Regions from separate parts of the Homo sapiens genome. Here regions 1, 2, 3, 4, 5 and 7 are each linked to region 6. Evidence: promoter capture Hi-C in 16 types of primary human blood cells and fetal thymus (Javierre and others, 2016). All regions are on one chromosome and are shown on one strand. The core of a region is centred on a gene start or on the middle of the fragment in contact, and the rest is flanking DNA. Distances in the headings are between cores, read along the strand shown. Region 1 overlaps CCDC38 (coiled-coil domain containing 38). Region 2 has its middle 44 kb from the start of LINC02452. Region 3 overlaps LTA4H (leukotriene A4 hydrolase). Region 4 overlaps NEDD1 (NEDD1 gamma-tubulin ring complex targeting factor). Region 5 has its middle 21 kb from the start of TRD-GTC2-8. Region 6 holds the start of CDK17 (cyclin dependent kinase 17). Region 7 overlaps HAL (histidine ammonia-lyase).

The links. The method cuts DNA at HindIII sites, captures the fragments that hold promoters and counts their contacts. A CHiCAGO score of 5 or more calls a contact.
Region 1: a fragment that was not itself captured here is called in contact with the fragment with the promoter of CDK17 in region 6 in 8 of 17 cell types (fetal thymus, monocytes, naive CD8 T cells and 5 more); the score reaches 11.2 in fetal thymus.
Region 2: a fragment that was not itself captured here is called in contact with the fragment with the promoter of CDK17 in region 6 in 3 of 17 cell types (activated CD4 T cells, non-activated CD4 T cells and total CD4 T cells); the score reaches 6.4 in activated CD4 T cells.
Region 3: a fragment that was not itself captured here is called in contact with the fragment with the promoter of CDK17 in region 6 in 4 of 17 cell types (neutrophils, M2 macrophages, monocytes and 1 more); the score reaches 14.9 in neutrophils.
Region 4: a fragment that was not itself captured here is called in contact with the fragment with the promoter of CDK17 in region 6 in 1 of 17 cell types (fetal thymus); the score reaches 6.3 in fetal thymus.
Region 5: a fragment that was not itself captured here is called in contact with the fragment with the promoter of CDK17 in region 6 in 17 of 17 cell types (activated CD4 T cells, total CD4 T cells, total CD8 T cells and 14 more); the score reaches 41.0 in activated CD4 T cells.
Region 7: a fragment that was not itself captured here is called in contact with the fragment with the promoter of CDK17 in region 6 in 1 of 17 cell types (neutrophils); the score reaches 7.3 in neutrophils.

The regions. Positions count from the first base shown.
Region 1 is chr12:95,936,193-95,939,765 of GRCh38, forward strand. CCDC38 (coiled-coil domain containing 38) reads right to left here. Exons shown (of 16, transcript NM_182496.3): 2 at 281-331. The coding sequence starts at 317. Among named protein-coding and RNA genes, the nearest start is that of CCDC38, 4.6 kb to the right of the region's middle. The HindIII fragment of the contact is 1,082 bases long and covers 854-1,935 here.
Region 2 is chr12:96,126,764-96,130,427 of GRCh38, forward strand. No RefSeq gene overlaps it. Among named protein-coding and RNA genes, the nearest start is that of LINC02452, 44 kb to the right of the region's middle. The HindIII fragment of the contact is 6,105 bases long and covers 1-3,664 here.
Region 3 is chr12:96,000,754-96,004,583 of GRCh38, forward strand. It overlaps LTA4H (leukotriene A4 hydrolase), which reads right to left. Exons shown (of 19, transcript NM_000895.3): 17 at 3,085-3,167; 18 at 2,207-2,311; 19 at 1-353. The coding sequence ends at 236. The region is part of intron 3 of LOC102723340 (a long non-coding RNA gene); the gene reads left to right. Among named protein-coding and RNA genes, the nearest start is that of HAL, 6.3 kb to the left of the region's middle. The HindIII fragment of the contact is 9,911 bases long and covers 1-3,830 here.
Region 4 is chr12:96,908,586-96,912,133 of GRCh38, forward strand. It overlaps NEDD1 (NEDD1 gamma-tubulin ring complex targeting factor), which reads left to right. Exons shown (of 16, transcript NM_152905.4): 3 at 1,167-1,310. The coding sequence starts at 1,175. Among named protein-coding and RNA genes, the nearest start is that of NEDD1, 3.1 kb to the left of the region's middle. The HindIII fragment of the contact is 441 bases long and covers 1,884-2,324 here.
Region 5 is chr12:96,055,198-96,058,851 of GRCh38, forward strand. No RefSeq gene overlaps it. Among named protein-coding and RNA genes, the nearest start is that of TRD-GTC2-8, 21 kb to the left of the region's middle. The HindIII fragment of the contact is 707 bases long and covers 915-1,621 here.
Region 6 is chr12:96,398,907-96,402,661 of GRCh38, forward strand. It overlaps CDK17 (cyclin dependent kinase 17), which reads right to left and starts at 1,533. Exons shown (of 17, transcript NM_002595.5): 1 at 1,080-1,533. RefSeq lists silencers at 937-1,096, 1,277-1,456, 1,547-1,876 and an enhancer at 2,297-2,516. The HindIII fragment of the contact is 3,343 bases long and covers 1-2,920 here.
Region 7 is chr12:95,979,928-95,983,409 of GRCh38, forward strand. It overlaps HAL (histidine ammonia-lyase), which reads right to left. Exons shown (of 21, transcript NM_002108.4): 16 at 871-936; 17 at 629-794. Among named protein-coding and RNA genes, the nearest start is that of HAL, 15 kb to the right of the region's middle. RefSeq lists an enhancer at 2,543-2,712. The HindIII fragment of the contact is 1,883 bases long and covers 864-2,746 here.

The DNA of each region.
Region 1 (3,573 bases), core at 145-2,644, 460 kb before region 6:
TTAGGTATGTCCTTGACTATGACAAATAATTGAGTTACTTGTTTTCTGTCATGAGAGACTGGGGCAATCTGGCTAAATATGACAATTTAATGCACCCTCTGATTTGAAGATTTTTTTTTTGAATTAAAAAGTAGAACAGAATCTTCTCTGCAGGTAGTTTATAAACTCATTACATTTTATATTTATGGTGTAACATTCTCCTTTTCTTATGCTCACAATCTGTTATGGAGCCTAACACTGCCAGGCCCAAACAAGAATATATTGATTGATTTCTTTTTACCTCCAGAATTCAGTGTTGGCAATAAATTTGAGGACATTTTCTTGCCTGGCCCTGTTGAAAGAAAAAAAAATACGTTTTTTAAAAATTCTATGAACATCATATAAAAGGGCTAAATTCAACTGCCAATGACTCCTTAACAGTCCTTATGGCTTTTAAAAGCAGTGAGCACACACATACTCTTTGACCCAGCAATTTCAATTCTGGTATCTTATGTCAAGAAAATAATCAGACAAGCAGCCAAAAAAGCATGTGCAATAATGTTTGTTCAATGTCATTTCATAAATACAGAGTTGACCAAATAACTATGGTATATCCATAAAATAAATTCCAGTTGGCCCTTAAAATGATGCTGTAGTCACTATTTACCTCTCTCCATGGTATTGGTTAAAAAACAAAACATTTCAAAAGAGTAGGGATAGTGTGGATTAAAAAATGCATGCAAAAATCTGAGAGGTGTTTGAAATGCCATTCATCAAACATGAATCTTGATTACATGTGATTTGGTGCAGTCTCTCATTTTTACCAGGTTTGGGATTAGGGTTAGGTGATTGAGGCACTCAATCTTAGCTGCAAAGCTTAAGGATTGCCAAAATAAACAAACAAAAACAAAACAAAAAAATCAACTTTCAGTTATTATGATAAATTAAATGTTAATGCAATATATTTTTATAAAATTCCAAATAAATGCAGGAAATTCTATAATGAACAAAATATCAAAATTGTAAATACGGACAGTCTCTGACCCTGTACTTGTGTGACCCTGAGAGCCAGTGCCTCACTCTACTCACCCAAATCCTGGCCCACAGAACTTGTCTCTATTTAAAATTCTGTTATTTCATTTATCATGAATTTTTTACATTAATTTATATATTTAAAATAGTGAATTAAAATATTGCTTATTTTGATTACTGAGTTTTTGCTTTCCCCTTAAATTTTATGCATGAAGCTAGAGCTTCACTGGCCTTACCCTAATCCTTGTTCTGATTTCTATACTTTGAGTATCATTCAAATTTCTCAGTGAGCTGGTGTAACTGTTACAATGAGAAAAATAATAAAGATATATTCATTTTGGGGATAAAGGACACCCAGGAGTTTATATTTAAAAATGTGCCCGCAGCAGAAACAATGGACAACACATTCTATTTTGGGCTACTCATTTAAATATGTGCCTCAGGAATCTCAAAGAGCCATATATAAGAGCTAAATATCCCGGAAGCAGAGCAGCAGATGATTAAGAACACAGACTTTGGACAAGCCTGATTTTTGAATCTTGGTTTGGTATTTACTTATGTGTGAGCAAGTTCATGTATCATTCAAAAAACATTTATTGAGTACCTACTATGTGTCAGGCACTGTTCTACGTGTGGGGGACAGGGCAATTTTTAAAAAGACAAAAAAGAACAAAAACTATTGTCTTCATGGAGCCTACATCTTAATTACTCAGCATCTCTGAGCCTCTGCTTCCTGTTTCATAAAGTGGACACACCTCTTAAGGCTTTCTTGAGGATTCAGTGGGCAATGGATTTAACCAAGTGGGGTGCCTGGCTTACAGACCAGCTCAGTAAGTGGGAACTATTATGTGCTAATATTTACTAATTAGCATCTGATTTTAGTTCCAGTGGTTATAAAAACAAATATTTAAAAAATTATGTCAAAGCTTATAAAAGAGAAAAAAATGAATAAAAACTATAACATTGACATTATACTTTTTCAAATGACTGAACATTTTTTCACAGGCATTAAATTCATTCTCACGGGGGAAAAGAAAGATCGGTGAAAAATTGGTGACAACCTGTGGTTGATGAGTATTTGGAATTTGGATGGCTAATACTAAAGATTTGTAGATTTTCTCAATTTTACACTCTGTACTCATCTCCACTCTTAGGATTCTGATCACCTCTTTCTTGTCACATTTTCACTCCTTTGGTCCTTCTATCTATCTAAATTCACTCTCCTTCCCACTCTCATTCCCTTTATCCTTAAAGTCTTTTTGCAATGAGCATCTTTATCCATGGGTTCAAGGACTTTTTCACTCACAGAAAAACTGGAAGTTCTGTTCCTTTAAACCAATTGCTAAGAGCAGATATCTGCTCTTATTCTGTCTCTATTATATAGTTCATATAACATGTAAATGCAATCAGCAGTCTCCAGATGTTGTTATACTTCTATACTTCCATATGCATGAATTCCTGTATTGATGAATGAAAGGTTGGTGAACAAAAGGGAGGGAGAGGAACAGAACCAGTTATTGTTAGGAAGGGATTATAAAGTCCCCTTTCCAATCAGAAAAAATGTTGAAGTCAGTGGATGTCTTTGTTGTGCGAAATAAAAATAGCATGATGGCTAAACAAAGGCTCTGTACCAAAAGAGAGGGAAAATGTTATTGGATTGCATAGCAAATGCCTGAAAGTTCACATCTTAAATACACGTTCACATCCAACTTCCAATAGATGAAAAAGATCAAAAGCTCAGAAATATCAGGAATGTAAAATGGTGGTGTATAACTGCCAGCCATCCATTTTAGAGGTCGCATAAGCTAAATGATTAAGAACATAGACTCTCTCTATGTCCCTTAATCCTCACACTTCAATTTCCCCATCTTTCAAGAGGAATGATGCAAATAGTATCTACCTTGTGGGATTGTTAGGTAAGTTACCACGTCCAGCCTTTGGATGGCCTCAGTTGCATAGTATGTGCTATGGGAGTGTAAGCACATGGAGAGGTGCACTCTGAGGGAGGAATGTGCCTGGTGTGTTTCAGGAACAGTAAGGACACCAGTGGGCCTTAAACACAGTGAACAAAGGGGACAGCACCCCAGATGAAGCCAGAGAGACAAGAAGTCCAAGATCACGAGGGCCCTGGAGGCCATTTTCTCAGTGAAATGGAACCATTCAATGAATCACTCTGATGCTGAGCTGAGAAGAGACTGTAGAAAGGGAAAAGGGTCACACAGGGAGATCTACTAGGAGACTACAGCCACTGGGAGGCAAGAGATAATGCTATCCCTTCCTTGGGATAGCAGTGGAAGTGGTGAGAGGTGGTCCGATTCTAGATGTGTTTTGACAGTAGAGTCTACAGGATTGGCTGATGGTTTGGATGTGGAGTATGAGATAAAGAACTGATTGCAGAAAGGATGGAGTTGCCATAAATGGAGACAGAGAAGGCAGTGGGGGAAGGGGCACTTGGGAAGATCAGAGGCTCATTTTGGAACATGTGAAATTTGAGATATATATTAGATATCTAAAGGGACATGGGTGTAATGTATACTGTTCTTTCAAGTGAACCCCATGCTG
Region 2 (3,664 bases), core at 552-3,051, 270 kb before region 6:
ACAGTGGGGATTACATACAATTCAACATGAGATTTGGACAGGGACACAGAGCCAAACCATATCAAGTGCATATTGGTATCAGCATTCAAGAATCTACTGGCTCATAAAACTGAGCTATTTAATATTAAGATCAATACAAGGTCTACTTGATGACCCACAAGCATAATGTAGTTTATAGGTTCATGTCCAAGTTCTGTGGAGTAAAATGAATGTTATAAAATTATAGGCTTGTCAACATGACCCTAAAACAACCGGTCAATTTAATAAACGAATAGATGAAAATCTATCAAATAAGTTGTTAGAAAATTACCTTGTATAAGGCCATACAGCAAAACAACTGAATTTTTCACTCATCAGCTAGTTAATTGGGCCTTGTGAAGACATAGGCAGAAAGAACGATAAAACTAGGGGCCCAGGAAGTTATGTCCAGTCTCCTGTCTGTGGTCAGGTCAATACTTCATGTATAAAAATACACGAAAGTTGCTAAAAAGCAAACTTGAGTAAAGGGAATTGAACCATCTTCCTCTGAAGTCTGTTCCAGGTTCCAATTAGGAATGCTTTCTTATTCATAACCATCCTTGTGCTGCAATCACAGCCTATTTCCTATAATTTGCTCCTCCATGGAGATGGAAAACAGCTGGCCATTTTTCTCTTTGTGATAATCTTTCTCATGCTCAAATCAAGGCACACTTAATCTTCTCTTTTCCACGTTGAATAACTCAAACTCTTTTATCTGTTTTCAGAAGATCTTTTTATTTTCCAGCGATTGTTCTGGCTTTTCTGTGGATTTCTCCATGTCTCTTCTTAAAATGCAGGGCCTTACACTGAAGACTTTAAAACGGCCTCGTTGGGTCTGAGGAATACTGAAAGATTCATTCTCAACCTTTGTCTCTCATTATCTAGACCACGGGCCATGTTTATGTTTTAGTCTCTGGTGGCCATCAGGTCATTCCTATGACCCTAACGTCTCAACCAGTTTTTCCCCAATAAGAATTTCATTCTGCTCTTGGAAAACCACTTCTCTTGTTTGTCGAGGTAACTTAGGACATGATTTCCTACCTCCAGTTTACTAACAAGTCATCCCAACTTGGTGTCCTCTGCGACCAATAAACATATTCTGAATGAATTACTCCAGCCTCAGACAGGGATTGTTAACACCCCTAAGCTAACATCTGAATCAACAACGAATATTTCTCCTTACCTATTGCTTCAGATCATGAACAACTCCACATATGCAGTTGGGTCCACTTGGCTTATTGACAGATACTGTGGGAATGTATTAGTCTGTTTTCATGCTGCTGATAAAGACATACCTGAGACTGGGTAATTTATAAAGAAAAAGAGGTTTAATGGACTCACAGTTCCACGTGGCTGGGGAGGTGTCACAATCATGGCCGAAGGCAAAAGGCACGTCTTTTTTTTGAAACGGAGTCTCGCTTTGTTGCATAGTCTGGATTGGCTCACAGCAACCTCTGCCTCCCAGGTTGAAGCGATTCTCCTGCCTCAGCCTCCCGAGTAGCTGGGATTACAGGCATGCGCCACCACACCTGGCTAATTTTTGTATTTTTAATAGCGACACAGTTTCACCATATTAGCCATGCTGGTTACGAACTCCTAACCTCAGGCAATCAGCCTGCCTCGGCCTCCCAAAGTGTTAGGATTACAGGCCTGAGCCACCGCACCCAGCCAAAAGGCATGTCTTAACATGGCAGCAGACAAGAGAGAATGAGAGCCCCAAGGGAAAAGGGAAACCCCTTATACAATAATCAGATCTCATGAGACTTATTCACTACCATGAGAACAGAATGGGGGAAACCACCCCCATGATTCAATTATCTCGCACTGGGTCCCTCCCACAACACGTGGGAATTATGGGAGCTACAATTCAAGATGAGATTTGGGTGGGGACACAGACAAACCATATCAGGGAAGAACAACAAAAACTCTGCTTTGGGCCAAACCAGGGTTTCTTAGCTCTGACACTATTGAAATTTAGAGCCAGATAATTCTTTATTGTAGAAGGCGGTCCCGCACATTGTAGGATGTTTAGCAGCATCTGTGGACTTTATCCACTAGATGCCAGTAGCAACTACCCCCAAGTTGTCACAAAAATGTCTCTAGACATTGCCATATGTCCCCTGGGGGAGAAAATCACCCCCAGTTGAGAACAACCATCCCAGATGCATGATTTCCCTCTGATCTTGTCTCTCCAGACAGAAATTAAATTGGTTCAAGAAAATTTGCTCATCACAGAGCTTCATTCTTCACTACCCAGCATCCCAGGAACTGTTGGACTTGGCATGTATAATACTGAGGAGCCCTGTCTGTGCTGTGCAGCTTCATCCTTTGAGATCAGCCTTATTGCCCCCATTTGATAGGCAGAGAGTGGATGAGCTATGAATTCAGCACCACATAGCTACCAAAGGGCATATATGAACCTAGGTCAGCTAGGATCTCAAGCCTGTGCTCTCTCCATCATCAAATGCAGCCTTTTCTCTAGATGCACAGTAGATTTGTAATTACTTGAGTCATCCTTTCCCCATTGATGAGATGGAGATTTCACCTTGTAAGAACTCTGCAGTCTTCTTTAAATAAAATCTAACTCTGGTCCTCTGAGGTGACCAAGAGGGAAACCCCCAGTGGAGAATCCCCTGACAAGGTCCACCTTGAAAAATCTGCATTTATCAGGTGATGGATACGCTAAAAGCCCTGACTTGACCACTACACAATCTATGCATGTAAATAATATTGCACATGCAACCCATAAATTTGTACAAATAGAAAAGAAAGAAAAATCCTGGTTCGTGTTATTAATGCAGATGGTAGTTCCCTTGTGCAGCTTTAAAAAACTGTTCCTTGTTTTCCACCAGCCTTCAGAGCTTCACCCTGCTGGGCGGACTCACCATCTTCCTGTCTAGTCCCACACGGCTCTTTTGAGCTGAGTGCAGGGGCTGTTAGAATGTTCTTTACCAGTTCCCACCATTGTCAGTGTCAGTGGCTTAGAGCTGCTTAAGGCTTTGCCATTCCCAAAGCACTTTCCCATGTGCTGTCACATTTGATTCCTGTTACACCTGCAAGAGAGCCTGGCTGGTGGATTATGGAGGTGAAGAAAACCAACGTGTAGGCCAGGCATGGTGGTGCACGACTATAATCCCAGCACTCGGGGAGGCCGAGGCAGGAGGATCGCTTGAGCCCAGGAGTTTGAGGCTGCAGCATGCCACCGCACTCCAGCCTGGGTAGCAAAGCAAGACCGTCTCAAAAAACAGACAAACAACAACAACAACAACAAAAAGGTATCGGGAGGCTGTAGATCACTCAGTTGGTAAATAGTGGAGAAAGGCCTGTAAGTAGTGGTAAGCCTACTGGCCTCACCTCCAGAGCTTCATCAAGAGGGATTTCTGCTCTGTTCAGATGGTCCTGGACTTCTTTTCATAAAATGTCTGTGCTTTTGTGTCAACATTTTCTGGAGAAAGCTGGCTCCCGAGGTCCTCTCTTTTGATCTTACAAACTGAAGACTGGCTTTTTTTCCTTTTTGTCTCACAAACTTTTTGCTAATACCATCATTTTCTTCTTTCAATGATCCCTATCCATAAAGATAAGTTGATTTCTGTCTACAGGCACTCCCAGGTCTAAGGAAACCTGTTTCAGCTGCGCTTTTCCCACG
Region 3 (3,830 bases), core at 7-2,506, 400 kb before region 6:
AAAGCTAATTCAAAATTTTTTAATTTGTAAATCAAAAGATTAAACCTTGTTAAAATTTACAAAGAATATGCCACTATAAGAAGAAGTAGCTCAACTTTATTTCAGTAAAATCACCAACAAAACAATAAAAAGCCAAAACTAAAAAGACAGTTTTAATTGTGAGCTGAAGTTTTATATTTCTTTACGAATTCCATTTAAAAAAGAGAAATCTCTAAAATCATCAATACGCAGGTCTTTAATCCACTTTTAAGTCTTTCCCCACCAGCATTGCAGTCACGGGATGCATGCTTGCTTTGTGCTCTTGGTAGGTTCGGACAGCTTGATCATGGGATTTGTCAAAGGCAGCAAGATCCCTGCCAAAAAAGAAAAAATTGAAAAGAAAGAAAGGCGAGAAGGAGACAGAGGAGGAGAAAGGGAGGGAGAGAAGAAAGAAAGGAGGGAAGGGGTTCAGAGGAAAGGAAAAAGGAAGGAGAAAGAGAATAAGAACACAAGTCAATACCCAAGATTAAATTAAAGGATGTCAGCAGGGGTGACAGCCAGCATCACCCAAATAAGGCACCAGTCCCAGCCAATCAGATGGGTATGGTCCTGCCACAGGGTCCCAGAGACCTCCTTCTGTACCAGAGACTGGCCTTTATACTGGCAGATCAGACATTTTGCAGCAAGTTACAGGGAAGGGCTAGAGTGGCTGGGACCCGTGGCTATTTACCAAGCAGCATGGAAGGATTTTATTATTTGAACAGAGTCCTCTCATCTCCTGGCTAAATATCAGCCCTGTATGTGAGAGTGAGCCTCAAAGCCTTTCTTTTTAAAAACTGCTTTTAAAAAAAATTTTTTAATCAAGATTTTAAGAGTATGAAAACACTAAAATTTATATAGAATTTCTGAAAACTTCAAATAATTGAGAATAAAAGTCCTGACCACAGTGAAATAATAAATACATAATAAATAATACACGAAATAAATAATAAATACACTAAATAAAAAGGACCTACCATACAAAAGGTAGGATTAGTCATTTTTAATGTAACTACTATAAACATCATAAAACAGAAATACTTATTTTTCCCACAAAAGGTATACTCTTATTTATTTTATTCATTTTTTTTTTTTGAGACAGAGTCTCGCACTGTCACCCGGGCTGGAGGAGCTGGAGAGCAATGGCGCAATCTCAGCTCACTGCAACCTCTGCCTCCCGGGTTCAAGCGATTCTCCTGCCTCAGCCTCCCAAGTAGCTAGGATTACAGGTGCCTACCACCACACCTGGCTAATTTTTTGTATTTTTAGTACAGACAGGGTTTCACTATGTTAGCCAGGCTGGTCTCAAACTCCTGACCTCGTGATCTGCCTGCCTTGGCCTCCCAAAGTGCTGGGATTACAGGCGTGAGCCACCGCGCCCGGCCCAAGTATACTCTTATTTAAAAACCTATTTAAAGTATACTTTACTCAATTCAAAGCTAGATGGGTTTTAATTAGGGAAAGCATATAAAATATACTTAAAACTTAATTTTGTGGTCACATCAAAAAAGAGATAATGACTTATTTTGCCAAGTTTTATGATATTATATGGCCATCACTTTTGATGGCCAAAACTGCAATTACTTTTGCACCCACCTAAATACTTGTGAAGTAAATGAAAAGCAAACAAAAGTAATCATGGATATTTATGGCATGATTTTTTTTTCCAGAATTTGGACAAAATTCATAAAGACCTTGACTGAGATATTCTTGTATCTTGCTGTCAAGATACAACTTATCCCCCTCTCACTAAGCATTCCTTTATTATGTCAAGCAACCTACCCTTGACCTCTATGCAACATTTGAACACAAAAGAGTTAGCTTTATCTGCTTATTTCTCCTTACATTTAACTTCAGACTCTCTTTCTTGTCTATACCTACCCACCAATTATCTTCTAGTTACCTTTAAAAATCTTTGTGTATATAAGGCTATCTTTGATTTATTTCTATTTTATCAGTATCTAACTCTATTTGATCCAAAATAGTAATCCATATATAATGCTTCTAAAAAGAGGAATGAAATTATTTCACATTTTAAATATTTATAAGTGTGAATCCCTATTCCAAAATTATACTGATAAACTTTAACAAATTAAAAAATATTGTCATATAGATTACGTTTAAATATTTGACAGTTTTCTTCCTGTTTCTTAGATGAATTCAAAGTACGGTCTGAGTGGGTTCTTACTTGAATAAGGGCCGGGTAAACTTCATTCTTCCTTGTTCAGTTGCCATCTTTAGCGCCAAAGGAATTGCGTCCTCCCACTTGGATTGAATGCAGAGCCGCAGCCATCTAAAAGGAGGATTTGGGGGGAGCATGGAGTAGAAAATGAGGAAGGGGCAGGATATGACAGGTATATCTTAATATTACTTCTGTAGTGATATGAATAACCCCACTATAGTTATACTGTACACCACTTTATGGTATGTCTTGATTCTGAGACTCTCAAATCCTTATATATACAATTTAATAATTGGTGAAGAGAAAGAAGAGGAGCTGGTTCTTGAAAAAGATCATATATTTTTAAAGGTCTGGATCAGGTAGGTGCTCACATACCTTATAAATCCAATTTCTGAAGGAATTAAACTTTGGTTTAAGCCTCACATTACAAATTTGAATTAAGAAAGATCAGGTAGGTGCTCACATACCTTATACATGCAATTTCTGAAGGAATTAAACTTTGGTTTAAGCCTCACATTACAAATTTGAATTAAGAAAGATTAACATATAATAGAATAAAATATTTCTAACTATTCCCATTTCAAAGTAGATTTAGTTGGTTGTGGAGAAAGCCTATTTACCACGGAATCCTTCATTCTAATTTTTTTTTTTTCTTTTAAGGCAAGAGAGGTTTAGAGCAAAGTCTAACAAAAAGATTAATACTACCAGATTACATATTGCAACTATTCCTTAAATACCACTATAAGTATTTATATAGAAGCAGTCAGTTTGACAAGGAATTCTCAAGACTCAAGTATGTCTCATACTCTGCATTCCCTTTCTCCATCTTTCAAAGGAGTTTAGTTTTCTGCTTTCTTCCACAGAGACAAGTTAAAATGATGTACCTGAATCGTATTTCAGAATTGTTAATGGCATTGAAGTTGTACACCTCTTGCATTCGCTTTATGTGCCCCAATGGAAGAGGTGCCTAAGAGCAAAATAAAGAAGTATACCGTATCATTTCAACAGGATTCCTTGGAAGAAAGGAGCTGGAGAGAAATGCATAGCCAGATTAAAATCCTAAATATTTTATAATATAGAAATAAGTCAGATAAAAATAAAAGAAACAAATTGCACACTAAGTAAATTCTGTGCAAACTTATTCCAGATGAGGATATTCTACTGGGAGCACAGGGATAATTTACTTTGTGAAGTATTCAGCATTAAATGAGAATTGCTCTTCTTAGACTTTTTAGCATGTATAAATATTATCTTTCAGACTTTTCCTAGAGTTTTTCTAGTTATTCTCTATAACTTATATATCTTAAATGCAATTCCATTCTCCAGATGAAATCATAGTTCCTTAATTTTTGCCTGATTCCCCCTAGCTTTATCTTTGTATATTTCCTCTGAAATCCCTGTTAAATTATCTGCATACCTACATAATAGCAGTTCTTAAATGTTTGTATTATAGATCTCTTTGGGAATCTGATGAATAATGTGGACTCTTTCCCTAGGGGGAAAATACACTTACTACATGAATACAAACTTCTGTATACAATTTCAGGGGGTTTATAAGCATCCTATCCCTACCTTAACTCACCCTAAAAGGGAGGACAAGTTTGGGTGAAGGAAAGAAAAAAGATGAGTT
Region 4 (3,548 bases), core at 854-3,353, 510 kb after region 6:
ATCACCTTGTTAGAATTACGTGTTTCAGCTGTATGCTCTGAATAAATGATTGAAGGCATCGTAGTCCAAGTATTGGTATAGGGACTTAGTGGCGTCTCATTTGACCATATTGCTAATTTTAGAGTTTTGGAAAAACTGGTGTGACTGGATTCTGACCTGCAGAAATGCTAGTTTATCATACTTTTTTTAAAAATTAGGAAGTTACTTATTAGTAGTTATTTGTTGTGAAACTGCTGTGTGCCAGGAATGTTTCAAGACTCTGGTGTGGGGAGACAGACATTATAAGAACAAATAAAAATTTCAGATAGTGGCTGGGCACGGTGGCTCACGCCTGTGGTCCCAACACTTTGGGAGGCTGAGGCGGGCAGATCACCTGAGGTCAGGAGTTCGAGACCAGCCTGACCAACATGGAGAAACCCCGTCTCTACTAAAAATACAAAATTAGCCGGGTGTGGTGGTGCATGCCGGTAATCCCAGCTACTCGGGAGGCTGAGGCAGGAGAATCACTTGAACCTGGAAGGCGGAGGTTGTGGTGAGCCGAGATCACACCATTGCACTCCAGCCTGGACAACAAGAGTGAAACTCCGTCTCAAAAAAAAAAAAAAAAAATTCAGATATTAGGAAGTGCTATGAAAAAAATGAAATCAGGTATTGGGATATAGGGTAAACTGCTAAGTCCCTTACCAGGTAAGGAAGGGACTGCGTTAGCCAGGGTGGTCAGGAAAGGCCTTTCATAGGAGGAAACATTTGAGCTAAGACCTGAATGATGAGAAGGAGATGACCATGGGAATCTGGGGAGAACATCTTAGGCACAGGGAGCAGCAAATGAAAAGACACTGAGGTGAGAATGACTTTGCCTTTGCATGAGGCAGAGAGAAGGCCAGTGAAAAGAAAGAGGAGAGTTACATGGGGGCCAGGACATGTAAGGCAGGCTAAGGAGGCTGGATTTCATTATCATTACTGTGAGGAGCCATTGGAAGGGTCAGCTAAGAGAATGCGACCTGGCTTATGTTTTAGGAAAATCACTTCAACTGCTTTGGTGACTGCACTGTTTGGAACAAAAATGAATGAGTTAGAGCCACTTGTTTTAGATTAGATTTTGACCTTTTTTTGAGTATGTCTATTCTTAAATGTTTTTAAAATACATTGTTTTAAACTATTTGTAGGCGCAGTCATGCAGGAAAACCTCAGATTTGCTTCATCAGGAGATGATATTAAAATATGGGATGCTTCATCTATGACATTGGTGGATAAATTCAACCCACACACATCACCACATGGAATCAGCTCAATATGTTGGAGCAGCAATAGTATCCTTTAAAAAAAAAAAACACACACACACACACACAAACCGCTTATTAGGTTAAACAACCACTGTCAATGAAACTTTTGCATGTGCCTCATACTGAGTAATGTGTTTTGCATTGCTACCAAGGATAGATAACGTAAAATAGTAATTTACAAAACAATATATCATATGAATGCACTCTGATTTTATCTGTTGCGTTCATTTAAAAAAAATTTAGTTACAACCCACTTCATTTGAAAACACTGCTATTAAAAAAAGTATATTCTGTCTACACCATAGAATTAGTTATCAAAAATTTCTTATTGAACCAAATGGAATAAGGTTGGTAGTTGTGGAAATAATTCCAAAAGGTTTTGGAATGAGTTTTTGCATCTACATTTGGGTATTTGTGGATCTGAACTGAAAATTAAAGACAGAACTTGAAGGCAGAAGCAAGTTGGGGAGGAGATAAAAAATTGCCCAATATCTCCATCTTACTAATGTACTCTCCATATCTTCCTTCCTCTCTGTGTGTGTGATGAAAATTACATTTCCTAAACAGACATAGTAAAGTTACCTAGATTGAACTTTTCTAAGCTTTTTATGTTTCTGATTGACACCTTCCCTGTCTTGGTGAGCTCCTCAATGTGGATAAAATAAAATGAGGGAGTGAAGACTGTAAACTAGGGTTTCTGAACCCTGTGCTATTGACTTTTTGGGGCAGAAAATTTGTTGTGGACCTTTCCTGTATGTTGTACCACGTGGAGGTTTATTGGTCTTCACCCGTTAGGTACCAATAGCCTCTAGTTGTGACAACCCAAAACGTTTCCAGAATTGCCTGAATCACTCCCAGTAGAGAACCACTGCTGTGACCACAGTGCTCCTATCACCTTTTATGTGAAAATGTTTTATGTAATTGGTATGTTAGAAATTTTCTTTTGTGAAACTCATACGCTATTTCTTAACAAATTAAGATTTAACATTTATCTGATTTTTATCAACACCAAAGTATTCTACTTTCTGATAAAAAAATCAAAGCTTTAAAATGTGACTGGTTCAGGAACAAAAATATTAAAAGTTTTATATGACTTACTATTCTTGCATGTATATAACAAGAAGGACAAATTTTCTTACTGAATTAAATTTACCTCCTTATCATTCCTTGATTTTGCAGTAAAACAAATTACTTTGGTACTCTGTTAATCAAACTCATGGTGAAGTGACTACATTTTTGAAGGACTTTCCAGATGTGTAATAGGGAAAATATTTTAAAGAGAGCGACAAGTATATGAAGTTGCTGTTCTCTATTTTTAGATTTTCATTATGTTTAGAGCTTAATTTTCCCTCTTACTATATAAGAGAAAGGTAGCAATTTGTAGTAAGATTATTTTTTGGTTGACTTTTGTTTTAAGTTTTACTAGGAGTTGGCATTTACTGATGTGCTACTTAATAGTCTAACAACAAAACTGATGTAGCTATGAGATAGTGTTGTATGACTTTTGGAAATTGGTCTTACAGTTTTCTTGCATGAGCAGATGTGCACTGAAAGCCTTCATACAGTCTTATTCTTAATAAGGCTTTGATCACTTCCATGGAGGTTAATTACTGAAGAACAAGGAGTTCCCAGCCTTAGCAACTTGGGGTCCACATAGTATAGATTCCAAGAATGGGGTTAATGTGAGACACCAGAGAGATTAGTTTTTTGTTTCTTGTCCTTTAACTTACGTTCCTCACTTTCTCATGATTTCTAAAACTACAAGAGAAATAAAAAAGAACTAGATTACCCACCCACATTATGTTTCAGTCCTTTTTTTTCTATATTCTAAGGAGAAAAGTAGTGGTAAACAGGAAGAAGTCAAGGAAAGGGAAATGGTTTTTCTCGCTATGGTAATATCTAGGTAGGAATGATTTGATTTGCATCATGTATCATAATAAAATTACAGTCTATGCTCTGTTTACAAAATACCTGAAAGTTATACAGAACATTCAAAAGTTAATGCAGTTAGGGATTCTGAGTGTCTAATTAACCTTTCTCCATTGCTTTTACTCACAGATTTTAATTGCTAAAAAGCACAGATTTAAACTTCTGATATTTTAATTTGTTATGGCTCTCAAAATCAGACTCTTATTCTTAGTTATATTATTGTATTTAATCATTTTAGTTTTAAAATAGTTACTGTTTTGTGTTTACTGATTGTTCCATTTACAATTCGTGTAAAAGAAGGTAAATAAAATTACATTTTATTTAAAAATTAAAACT
Region 5 (3,654 bases), core at 18-2,517, 340 kb before region 6:
CAAAAATTAGCCAGGTGTAGTGGCAGGCATCTGTAATCCTACCTACTTGGGAGGCTGAGGCAGAGAATTGCTTGAACCCGGGAGGCAGAGGTGGCAGTGAGCCGAGATTGCGCCACTGCACTCCAGCCTGGGTGACAGAGCAAGACTCCATCTCAAAAAAAAAAAAAAAGAAGAAGAAGCCAGGCACGGTGACTCATACCTGTAATCCCAGGACTTTGGGAGGCCGAGGCGTGTGGATCACGAGGTCAGGAGTTCAAGACCAGCCTGGCTTATGGTGAAACCCCATCTCTACTAAAAATACAAAAATTAGCTGGGTGTGGTGGCAGGCGCCTGTAATCCCAGCTACTCGGGAGGCTGAGGCAGAAGAATCACTTGAACCCAGGAGGCGGAGGTTGCAGTGAGCCGAGATCGCACCACTGTACTCCAGTCTGGGTGACAGAGCAAGACTCTATCTCAAAAAAAAAAAAAAAAAAAAAAAAAACCCTGAGAGTGGGTAATTTACAAAGAAAGGAGATTGGCCAGGCGCGGTGGCTCATGCCTGTAATTCCAGCACTTTGGGAGGCCGAGGCGGGTGGATCACGAGGTCAGGAGATGGAGACCATCCTGGCTAAAATGGTGAAACCCCGTCTCTACTAAAAAAAAATACAAAAAATTACCCGGGTGTGGTGGCGGTTGCGTGTAGTCCCAGCTACTCCGGAGGCTGAGGCAGGAAAATGGCATGAACCCGGGAGGCGGAGCTTGCAGTGAGCCAAGATTGCACCACTGCAGTCCGGCCTGGGCGAAAGAGCGGAAATCCGTCTCAAAAAAAAAAAAAAGAAAGAAAAGAAAAGAAAAGAAAGGAGGTTTAATTGGCTCATGGTTCTGCAGGCTTCACAGGAATCCTGGTGGCTTCTGCTTCTGGGGAGGCCTCAGGAAGCTTCCAATCACGGCGGAAGGCAAAGGGGGTGCGAGGTGTCTCACATAGTGGGAGCAAGAGCAAGAGAGAGCTAGAGAGGAGGTGATGTACACTTTTAAAAAACCTAATCTCACAAGCACTCACTCACTATCACGGGAACAGCACCAAAGGAACAGCACCAAGGCGATGATGCGAAACCATTCATGAGAAATCCGCCCCCATGATCCAATCACCTCCCCGCCAGGCCCCACCTCCAACACTGGGGACTACAATTCCACATGGATTTGATGGGAACACACACCCAAGCCATGTCTGATGGACACATAGTTTATTTTCTTTTGTGACTCTGCATAGGCCATTCTTGCCACTGGGACCCCTTCCCTCCCAATCCTCCTGGCTTTCCCTGCCTGTCAGCAAACTCCTGCTCCTTTTTCAAGCATCAACTCGGATTTACCCTCTGCTGTGATGTCTTCTGTGACTCACATGCAGATTTAGGCACCTGTTTATTGTGTTCTCAATATATCTTACCCATACTATAGAAATATTTGTTGTTTTTTATCTACCTAGTGTTAAATTAAATAAGCACGAGGCCATTGGCCAGAGGCCCTCTCCATATTTTGAGTTTCTGTGGAACAAACAGCAACCTAATAGTATGTAAACAAACTGAAACCTAATTTAGGAGTATATTTTTGTAACATATAGCCTGGTTTCAGCCAATCACAGAGAAGCTTCAGCCAATAATAAGCATCCAATTGATGAGACCACGCCCAATAAGGCAGATGCCTAGCTGTTGCCGATCAAGTGGTTTCTCTACATTGCTTTTGTGTTCACCCTAGAAAAGCTCATTGCTCACACTGCCAAGTGGAGTTTTCTGAACCTCTTCTGGTTCTGAGTGCTGCCTGATTCATGAATCATTCTTTGCCCAAATAAACTCTGTTAAATTTAATTTGTCTAAACTGTTTCTTTTAACACTAGCTTCTATTCCGCCTTCTCTGACAAGCGTTCAGGAACCCACCCCACCCCCACCCCGTACTTTGGGTGTAGCCCATGTGATTTAAGTCTAGCCAATCAGAGCACTAAGGAGCTACAGTTCAGAGGTGATCATGAGACCCAGGTTCATCGAACTAGAGTGAATCCTGGGACTGAGCATGAGCGGCTGGGAAGAAACACACAAGTTTTTGTTGCAAGTCTGGAGCTGCTAGCAGACTTCACATACTGCCTGAGCATGAAGCAAAAATAAAGAGAGTGAAAAGAATGAGAGAGAATGGGAAAGAGTCTGCTGGTGACATTATTTGATCCTCTGAATGATGCCTCACTTAAATTCAAGATATATTCTTGGATTTTGTGCATTAACAAATTCCCTTTTTGAGCTTAAGCCTGCTTGATTTATCTATCATTTGCAACCAAAGGAACATTAACCAATAAATACATTTCACTGTATATCTGTGTCTATATATCTATATGTATTTCATTTTACCAAGGTGTCTCCCTACTAACCATAATTCTTTGAGGGCAGTAGATGCTCAATATTTGTCAAATGAATTCAGCTGAAGGGTGTTTTGAAGGAGACTGACCTTAGAGGAGGGACATTTTAGGAAGGCTAATGGACTTAGTGTGAGATGTGATCAAGGGACTCAACCAAGTTGAAGAGTAGGATTGAAAGGGAAGGGACAAATACCAAAGAAAGATTTAACAAGGCAGTGATACAGAGTGGGGTGGAGCAATAGTTAGATTAAAGCCTGAGTGCTACCCTGTTCTGCGTATTTGTTTCTTTTGGTGTCTCTTTAGCAGCCAGCCTAAATTAAAAGTTTATTGTACTGGCTGATTATTGCCTGTCTAAATCACCCGTCTCTGTTAGTTTATCACAAGTGAAAAAATTAATGATAGAGAATCAGAGACTCACATATAAGCAAATAAGCATGATTATTATAAGAAAGAGCTTTTATTAAACAATACTTTCAGGTCTTCATAAGAATAGGGGTAGAATTTCAGAGACCCACATAACTCAGTGTGCAGTAAATGCTGCTCCTGGGCAACTTAATGGAGCATAAACTGCCAGCAACGGTCCCAATTGAAATGGAGACTGGAAGGTGAAGTTGTCCTTCCTTTCTGTAACCACCAGGCAAGAGGACACTTGTAAGGTGTGAGTAGCAGCACCCAAAAACCAGCTGCAGGACTCAGTGGAAGGGAGGAATAAGGTCACTCTTAAAATCCTATCACCTCACATAGAAAAATAGCTAAGTCCTAATTAAGCTCAACATCGCCACTCTCAGCTTATCCCTGAGACAGGTCAGGAGAAGAGGGACCATTTGCTTTGCTCTGGGATTGTTGCACTTCTGCAATCTGACTTTGTAAAAAAAAAAAAAATTAATTTAAACAGTTGCTACCATATGGGATAGTGTAGCTCGATGGTTTCTTTCTCTCTCTCGTCCCTCTCCTGCTCTGCCTTCTATGTATTTACCACCCCTCTTGCAGAAATGCTCTCGTGGAATGTGGCTTTTTTTTTTTTTTTTTTGAGATGGACTCTCACTCTTGTCACTCAGGCTGGAGTGCAGTGGCACTATCTCGGCTCACTGCAACCTCCGTCTCCCGGGTTCAAGCGATTCTCCTGTCTCAGCCTCTCAAGTAACTGGGATTACAGGTGCCCACCACCATGCCCAGCTAATTTTTATATTTTTAGTAGAGACAGGGTCTCACCATGTTGGCCAGGCTGGTCTCGAACTCCTGACCTCACGTGATCCACCCACCTCGGCCGCTTA
Region 6 (3,755 bases), core at 283-2,782:
CTAAACGCTTTTTGCCACTTTTGCAAAAGAAAAGCTAATTGTTAACGGCCATGTGACATTATAGATCCCAGAAAAGGAAAGGGTGGGAGGAAGAGAGAGAAGTTCAAGGCAGTTCAGGGTCAGAACAAGCTCAGACATCCTGTCATTAACAAATGTTCCCCAAGCTGAAAGCAAAATACTGCTTACCCGAAAAGGAGTGGGTGAAAAGTAGGGGGAGAACGAGGGAAAAACCACAGGAGAGTCAATGTGGCAGTGTGGGGGTGACAGGAGGGAGGGAATCTGGAGCTATCCAGCTGAGTTGGGGAGCAAAAGCATCGGGCATAGCATCGGGCACAAAAATGCTGAGAAAAGCAACTGCGACGGAGACAGCACTAGGCACCCTCCTCCCCCCATTTTCCCCTCCCCATCGGTTTGCTGGGTTTCCCACCTTCCCTCTACCTCCGCTCTTGACCAACACTCCGGGGTGTGACCCGCCAGCAGGAGGCTGCCCTGATCTTTGTCTCTACCCGCTCCCACGCGCGGGCTCCTCCTCCTCCTCCGCGCTCCCCACCCGCGCACAGCGCCAGCGTCTCCAAGGAGCTGCAGGCGCCGCGACCGCCGCCTCCTCGCCCACCTCCCGCGGACCCGCGCCCCTTCCTTCCCCTCCCGGGCAGCGTCGCCTGCGCCTCCAGCTCCACCCCCGCCGAGGGGACCTTTGTGTCTCGGGGGACTTTCTGCCTCTTTCCCCTCCTCCGCCTCGCGAGGAGACCGGCCTCCCCCGCAGACCAAAGCGGCAGCGAGCACCGGAGGCGGCGGCGTCTATATCTGTCGGCGCCTCCTGGGAAGCAGCTCGCAGACACTCACACCCCACCCGAGCCCCGGAAATCCCCGGGCGACCCAAGGTCCTCGCTGGACCGGAGAGGTGACAGGCGCACGCTAGCCCCCCGCGCCGCGCCTCCTCGCTCAACTTCCCGACCGGGCCTGAGCCACCCGCGCCCCCAGTAGCCCCCGCCCCCGCCTCTGTCCCACGCAGCCTCCCGGCCCCGCGGCCGACCCGACACCAGGGGAAAGCGCGGCGCGGACGCCAGCCGCCAACTCACCAGCAAGAGCGGGGACCGCGGGTCCCGAGGCGAGGCGAAGAGAGGCGCGGGGGGAAGCTGCTCCGCGGACGCCCGCGGCGACCGGATGCAAGTCCGGGTCTCAGCGGCCGGCAGACGTGAGGCGCTTCCGAGCGCAGGCCTCCGCCGCCACAGCCGCCTTCCGGCTCTCGCCGCGGGTCCGGAGCCTCGGGAGGGGCCGCGGGTGTCTCACGCGTTGCCAAGTCCCTCGGTCAACATGGCTCCCGCGCCGACGAGCCGCGCGGACGGCCCACTAATCCCCTCGGAGCAGCCGGGCGCGAGCGCGGCGGGCGCCGACGGCGGGCTGAGACTGTCTGGCCGGGCGCTGGCTCCTTCTCCGCGGCTCTGCGGCGGCCCGCGGGGAGCTCAGGAGACTGCGGGCGGCCGCGTTCGCTCCTTGCGTGTGCGTCGCTTTCACACTCGGCGGCTGCGGATTGACGCCTCCGCCTGTTCCCCGGAGGAGAGCGAGTGCAAGAGAAAAAACACTTTTATTGAAACGATCCAACCAGCGGCGGCGGAGAAAAGCGACCGGCCGCGGGAGCTTACCCCACCCCCGCCTGAGCGGCTCGCCGGGGGCAGCGCGACCCCTGCCGGCGGCGGCGGAGGCGGGGGCGGGGCCGGCGGCCGGGGGCGGGGCCTGCAGGGCGGGGCGGGTGTCCCCGGGAAACTGCCCGCTCCGAAATGCGGGCGTCGGGGGAGCGGCGGAGGGGGCCAGGGGACCCCACCGGAATGAGTGCCTGTCCGCAGCGACTGGGGGAGAAATTATGTGAATAATTCAGCCCCTCCAACATCCCCCTGCCCCTCAACTTCCCGCTACCAAACCAAAACTCGTGCTTCAGTTATACAAGTAATTACTGTACAAGGTGTCCATGCCACAGTTCTCCACTGACTTTCTAGAGAGTCCATGTCAAAGGACCCACACTGAAAGATGTTGATGGCTGCAACTTTTCTCCTTTGTTGTGTGTGGGTACGTGGGTACTAGTGCCGCAGTCTCTCACACACACGGCATCTATTCATTTAAACTACAGTACAGTGTTTTGTATATATTATCATGTGCCCGGCAATATGCTGAGTCCTCTAAGGACGGAGAGTCTAGCTGGGATGAAAGATGATCAATAACTATCATAAAAATCTGAACGTTATGAGCGGAGAAATACAAGGTGCTATGAAAACAGAAAGGACTACTGTTGCACGGGTTAGGTTTTGTTTTCTTGGGGGAGGCGGGCCGCGAGAGGTTGGCCCAGTTTCTGCAACTGTTTTTACTTTCTCCTTTCCCAGAGGCTAAAAGCTAGTTCAGGAATGAACAGCAGAGTGGCAGTGAAGACAAACTAAAGTAATACTGACCCACTTTTTTCCACTAATAAGGATAAAAGCATAAAGTTAAAACAAACTTAAACCCCTAGAGGGAGATAATGAGAGGATTGAAAGAAGAGAGTAGGGACCGGATGTAGACAACATAAACAAGAAAAAAAAACCCACATAAAAGTCCTGTGAAGTGAGATAAATTTTTTTTCCCATGTTAACACCCGGAAGTAGAAGCTGCTTTGAAGTTTCAAATCACATTATGTGCTAAGAACTTCGGGGAATTATCTTTTTGGATTTAGGGATGAATCCTTTCCCCCTTAAAAATGCTGCATGCTGACATCTTTCTCTTATTTTGTTTGGCAAAGTTAAATGCATCTACAGTTATATCCAACGATCGTACGTGTCAATCAGGCTTTTCCCATGCCTCTAAAATTACCAGGACCCGTAAATTAGCAACAATTATGCTCTACGCGTATTTAACACTTGTTTACCAACCAAGAATGCAAATATACATAACAAGCTTTCCGTTAGAACAAGTGCGCTTTGTTTAAAAGCACTGTTAATGAGGCTTTTTAGATTTGTCCAAGTCAAACTTGGAACTTTATAATATAGCAAGATGTAGCATCATTTTCAGAGTTCTTTTTAAGTTAAAGAGAAACACTGATATTTATACAAGGCCTATTTATATGAAAGGATTTTCATATACTTGCCTCATCTAAATTAGTACTTTAGTAAATATCAAAAAATCACCAAAAAAGGGAGTCTATGAAATGGCATTCTGAGTTTCAGCATTAATACTTATACCTTCATATCATTAGATTAACATTACTCCATGAGAAATAAAAAGATTATTCTGTCTCATCCAAAGCACCCTCTCCTCTTTCTACATCTTTCATTAGCATAACAAAGAATTCGTAATTGGGAGGCTGAGGTGGGAGGATCCATTAAGCCTGGGAGGCGGAGTTTGCGGTGAGCTGAGATTCTGCCACTGCACGCCAACCTGGGTGACAGAGTGAGACACCGTCTCAAAAAGAAAAAAAAAAGACGAATTCATAATGAAAACTTAGGTGATTATTTGATTGATTGGTTTGTTATTTCTTTTTTTTTTTTAAGACAGAATTTTGCTCTTGTTGCCCAGGCTGGAGTGCAGTTGCGTGGTCTCAGCTGACTACAACATCCGCCTCCCAGGTTCAAGCGATTCTCCTGCCTCAGCCTCCCAAGTAGCTGGGATTACAGGCATCCGCCACCACGCCCGGCTAATTTTTTGCATTTTTAGTACAGACAGGGTTTCACCCTGTTGGCCAGGCTGGTCTCAAACTCCTGACCTCAGATGATTCACCCTCCTCGGCCTCC
Region 7 (3,482 bases), core at 555-3,054, 420 kb before region 6:
TAAGTGAATGAACATAAATGAGGCCCTTAGTACTTACTTAGTGCCAGGCACTGTTCTGATGTGTTAATCTGTCTCTTACAATCTTGAGTCAGAAATAAACTATATTGAAGCTCAATCTTCACAGAGGGTATCCTGATTCTTATAAGCATTTTTTTAATGTTGCAATAACATCTTTATGTTTTTAGTGGTTGTTATATCTAGTGAAATGAATCCAAAGTTTAATTATAGGTTTAAAAGTTCAAAGTTTAATTATAGGTTGGTTCAAGTTTCACCATTAACTATAACCATCTTAGTCTTTTTCCAATAGTCTTCAAATGGAGATTTGGAAAAAAGCTATAGAGATGAAGTTCATATGCAATGTCAAATTGCTTTCCACAGAGAAATTGTCCATTACAGCCTTATTATTGTATTATTATATTTCAGCATAACAGTATCGAAGTTTTTAAACTATTTTTTTCTGAAAAATATTAGAGTTAACCTGTTACCTTTGCACTGAGAGAACTAGGATGCAGATAAAAGTGGTGAAAAGTTAGATCTCACTCACAGACCACATTTGATACTTCTAGGTGAAATGGAAAGACCCTTAGATGGACGGGCGTGTGTTCTGGGAAAGGGGCAGTGTCCTTACCAAGGGCTGCTGCCGTGCAGTGAGCTATCATGAACCCAGAGTTCAGACCACCTTCAGCCACCAGGAAGGCAGGCAGCTCACTGAGGGAGGGATTGCAGAGCCGCTCGATTCTTCTCTCACTGATTGCAGCAAGTTCATGGATGCCAATGGCCAAGTAGTCTAGGGCCTGAAAGAGGGTCTCCATTTAGTCAGCCTATATTGAAATGTGCCTTCTGGGTCAGGAGCAGTTTTAAAAAGCTTACTTTGGCTGGGTATTCACCATGGAAGTTTCCTCCAGAAACTGTCTCTCCCCTATTGGCAAAGACCATCTTTCAAAAGAGGTTAAGGCTTGAAGATAATGTTTGCTGGTCACTTCAAGTACAACCCCTTCCTGCCTTCTTTTTTAACGTGGAGGTGGCAGTCTGTGTACAAATGTGGGGTGGAGGGAAAGAGACAAGTCTTCCTGCAAGAGATATAAAGGGGCACAAAAGCAAAAAACAAAAAGCCTTAAAGGTGGATCATGTACACCCAATTTGGAGGCTGAAAAAACATGAACCTTGAAATGATGTTTTCTCTTGAGATTAGATTCTAAAGCACCATAACTGTACTAACCTGGTGGTTAGTACCTGCCCTCAAAAGGTTTATAGCCTGAAACTAAAAACAGAGACCAACACATCTGTTTGAAAGCAACTTCTGTTTCTTCAATGGGCACTGCAAATTTGTGTTCCATAGAAGAATCTGTTGAATGGGAAACTCTGCTGATGAGCAACTACCAAAATGTCTGGAACAATCAATTTTGAGAAAATTTTCAAATTCTTTACTCAGTAATCTGGTGTCAGCGTTCAACAGCAGATGGTGGCCAATATGTCCTCATGAATCCATTTTAAGTAGGTGGCAAGTTTAAATTTGCTGAATATTATTACTCTGAGGTAATTCTTTTTTTATTTTCTGTATCATTCTGTCACCCAGGCTGGAGTGCAGGGGCGCCATCTCGGCTCACTGCGACCTCTGCCTCCCGGGTTCAAGTGATTTCTTGTGCCTCAGCCTCCTGAGTAGCTGGGATTACAGGCATGCACCATCACACCCAGTTAAATTTTGTATTTTTAGTAGAGACAGGGTTTTGCCATGTTGGCCAGGCTGGTCTTGGACTCTTGGCCTCAAGTGATCAGCCCACCTTGGCCTCCCAAAGTGCTGGGATTACAGGTGTGAGCCACCAAACCCAGCCTCAGATAATTCTATTCCATCATGCACTTTACTTAAACCAGCAAGCACCCAGGAAAAGGCAGTAACAGATCCTTCTTCCTGGTTCTAAAGAGCTAATCTTTGCCTCTTGGGCTCAAGAATATTCATTACCTATTAACTGAGAACTTGCTGTGTGCAAGAAAGTTTCTAACTTTGAAAGAGTTAGAGATGTATGTGTTACATTAACCTACTCAAGTGTGGATTACTCTGTTCTGCATGTGTAACTGTGAGCCCATTGGGTCTAGCTCCTTGGTCTTGGCCTCTTCTCCATTCTCTGAATCCCTATAGCAATGGAATTCTGCATCAATTTAGAACTTAGACATGTTTTTATTGTCCTCTAGTTGTTCCAAATTTGTTTGTTGGCTATTAGATTAAAACAATTAGAATTTAACTCCCATAATATCCAGCATGTGTGATGGGGCTCCGTATCTGCAACAGAAAATTGAGACACATATTCTTTCAGGTAACAGCAGTATTGCAAGAGAACTCCCAAATATTAGCCTATTGGAAATTTATCAATAATTAGCAATCTTTAATTGAAAAAAATAAAAGACTTTTGGCTGAAATTCTTGCTGAGGCAATTGGTAGCAGAAGAATTTAGTGAGGAATTAATTATCCCCTGCCCCATATTCAGTAATTGAATGGTAATTTCTAAAAACTATGAGATACCCTTTAAAAGCAATGATGTAAATGTAGAATAGATACCTCTTCCCTACAGTGAAAAGACTGGTACGTGAGATAAGACTACATAGAGTTCATAAAAACTACTATTCCATCTGGGGGATGGGGTGGTATTGAGGTGAATGGAGAGACCCACAATTTCTGAGGCTTATTTAGTGTGGGTTTGACTTCAGTGTAAAACAATGTGAGAGAACATAAAACACACATTCTGAAGTAAGCTTGTCAAAAAACACATACATACAAAAGCCATCTCATGGGAAACCTTATGGAGCTATCACATAACCATCTTCTAACTCAGCCTGTGACCTGCTTTTGGGGCTGCTTACTCAGCACTTTCTCTAGGATTCAGAACTGAGGCAGATGTGGAATAGGAAAAATAGATTCCAAAGGCGTTTGATTATCTTCAGAGGCAGTGCTATCTCCATGAAAACTGTGCCAGTGTGACTCCTGACTGATCACCTCAACATCTGGGGAACTGAGCCATCATGGAACATTCCAGAGAAAAACCAGATGGCTCTGAGATAAGCCACACCATTAAGAGAGGACCTCCATCCTTGAGAAATGGAATCAGTTTTACTATTTCTTTGAACAAACGCAAAAGCACTAATTTGAGCAAAGTGCGCATGACAAATAAAAACTCATGATGGGGGCTGGGTGTAGTCGCTCACACCTGTAATCCCGGCACTTTGGGAGGCCGAGGCAGGTGGATCACTTGAGGTCAGGAGTTTGAGACCAGCCTGGCCAACACAGCAAAACCCTGTCTCTACTAAAAATACAAATATTAGCCAGGCCTGCTGGCACATGCCTGTAATTCCAGCTACTCAGGAGGCTGAGGCAGGAGAATCGCTTGAACCCGTGAGGCAGAGGTTGCAGAGAGCCGAGATGGCACCACTGCACTCCAGCCTAGGAGACAGAGTGAGACTCCGTCTAAAAATAAACAAAAAAAAAAATG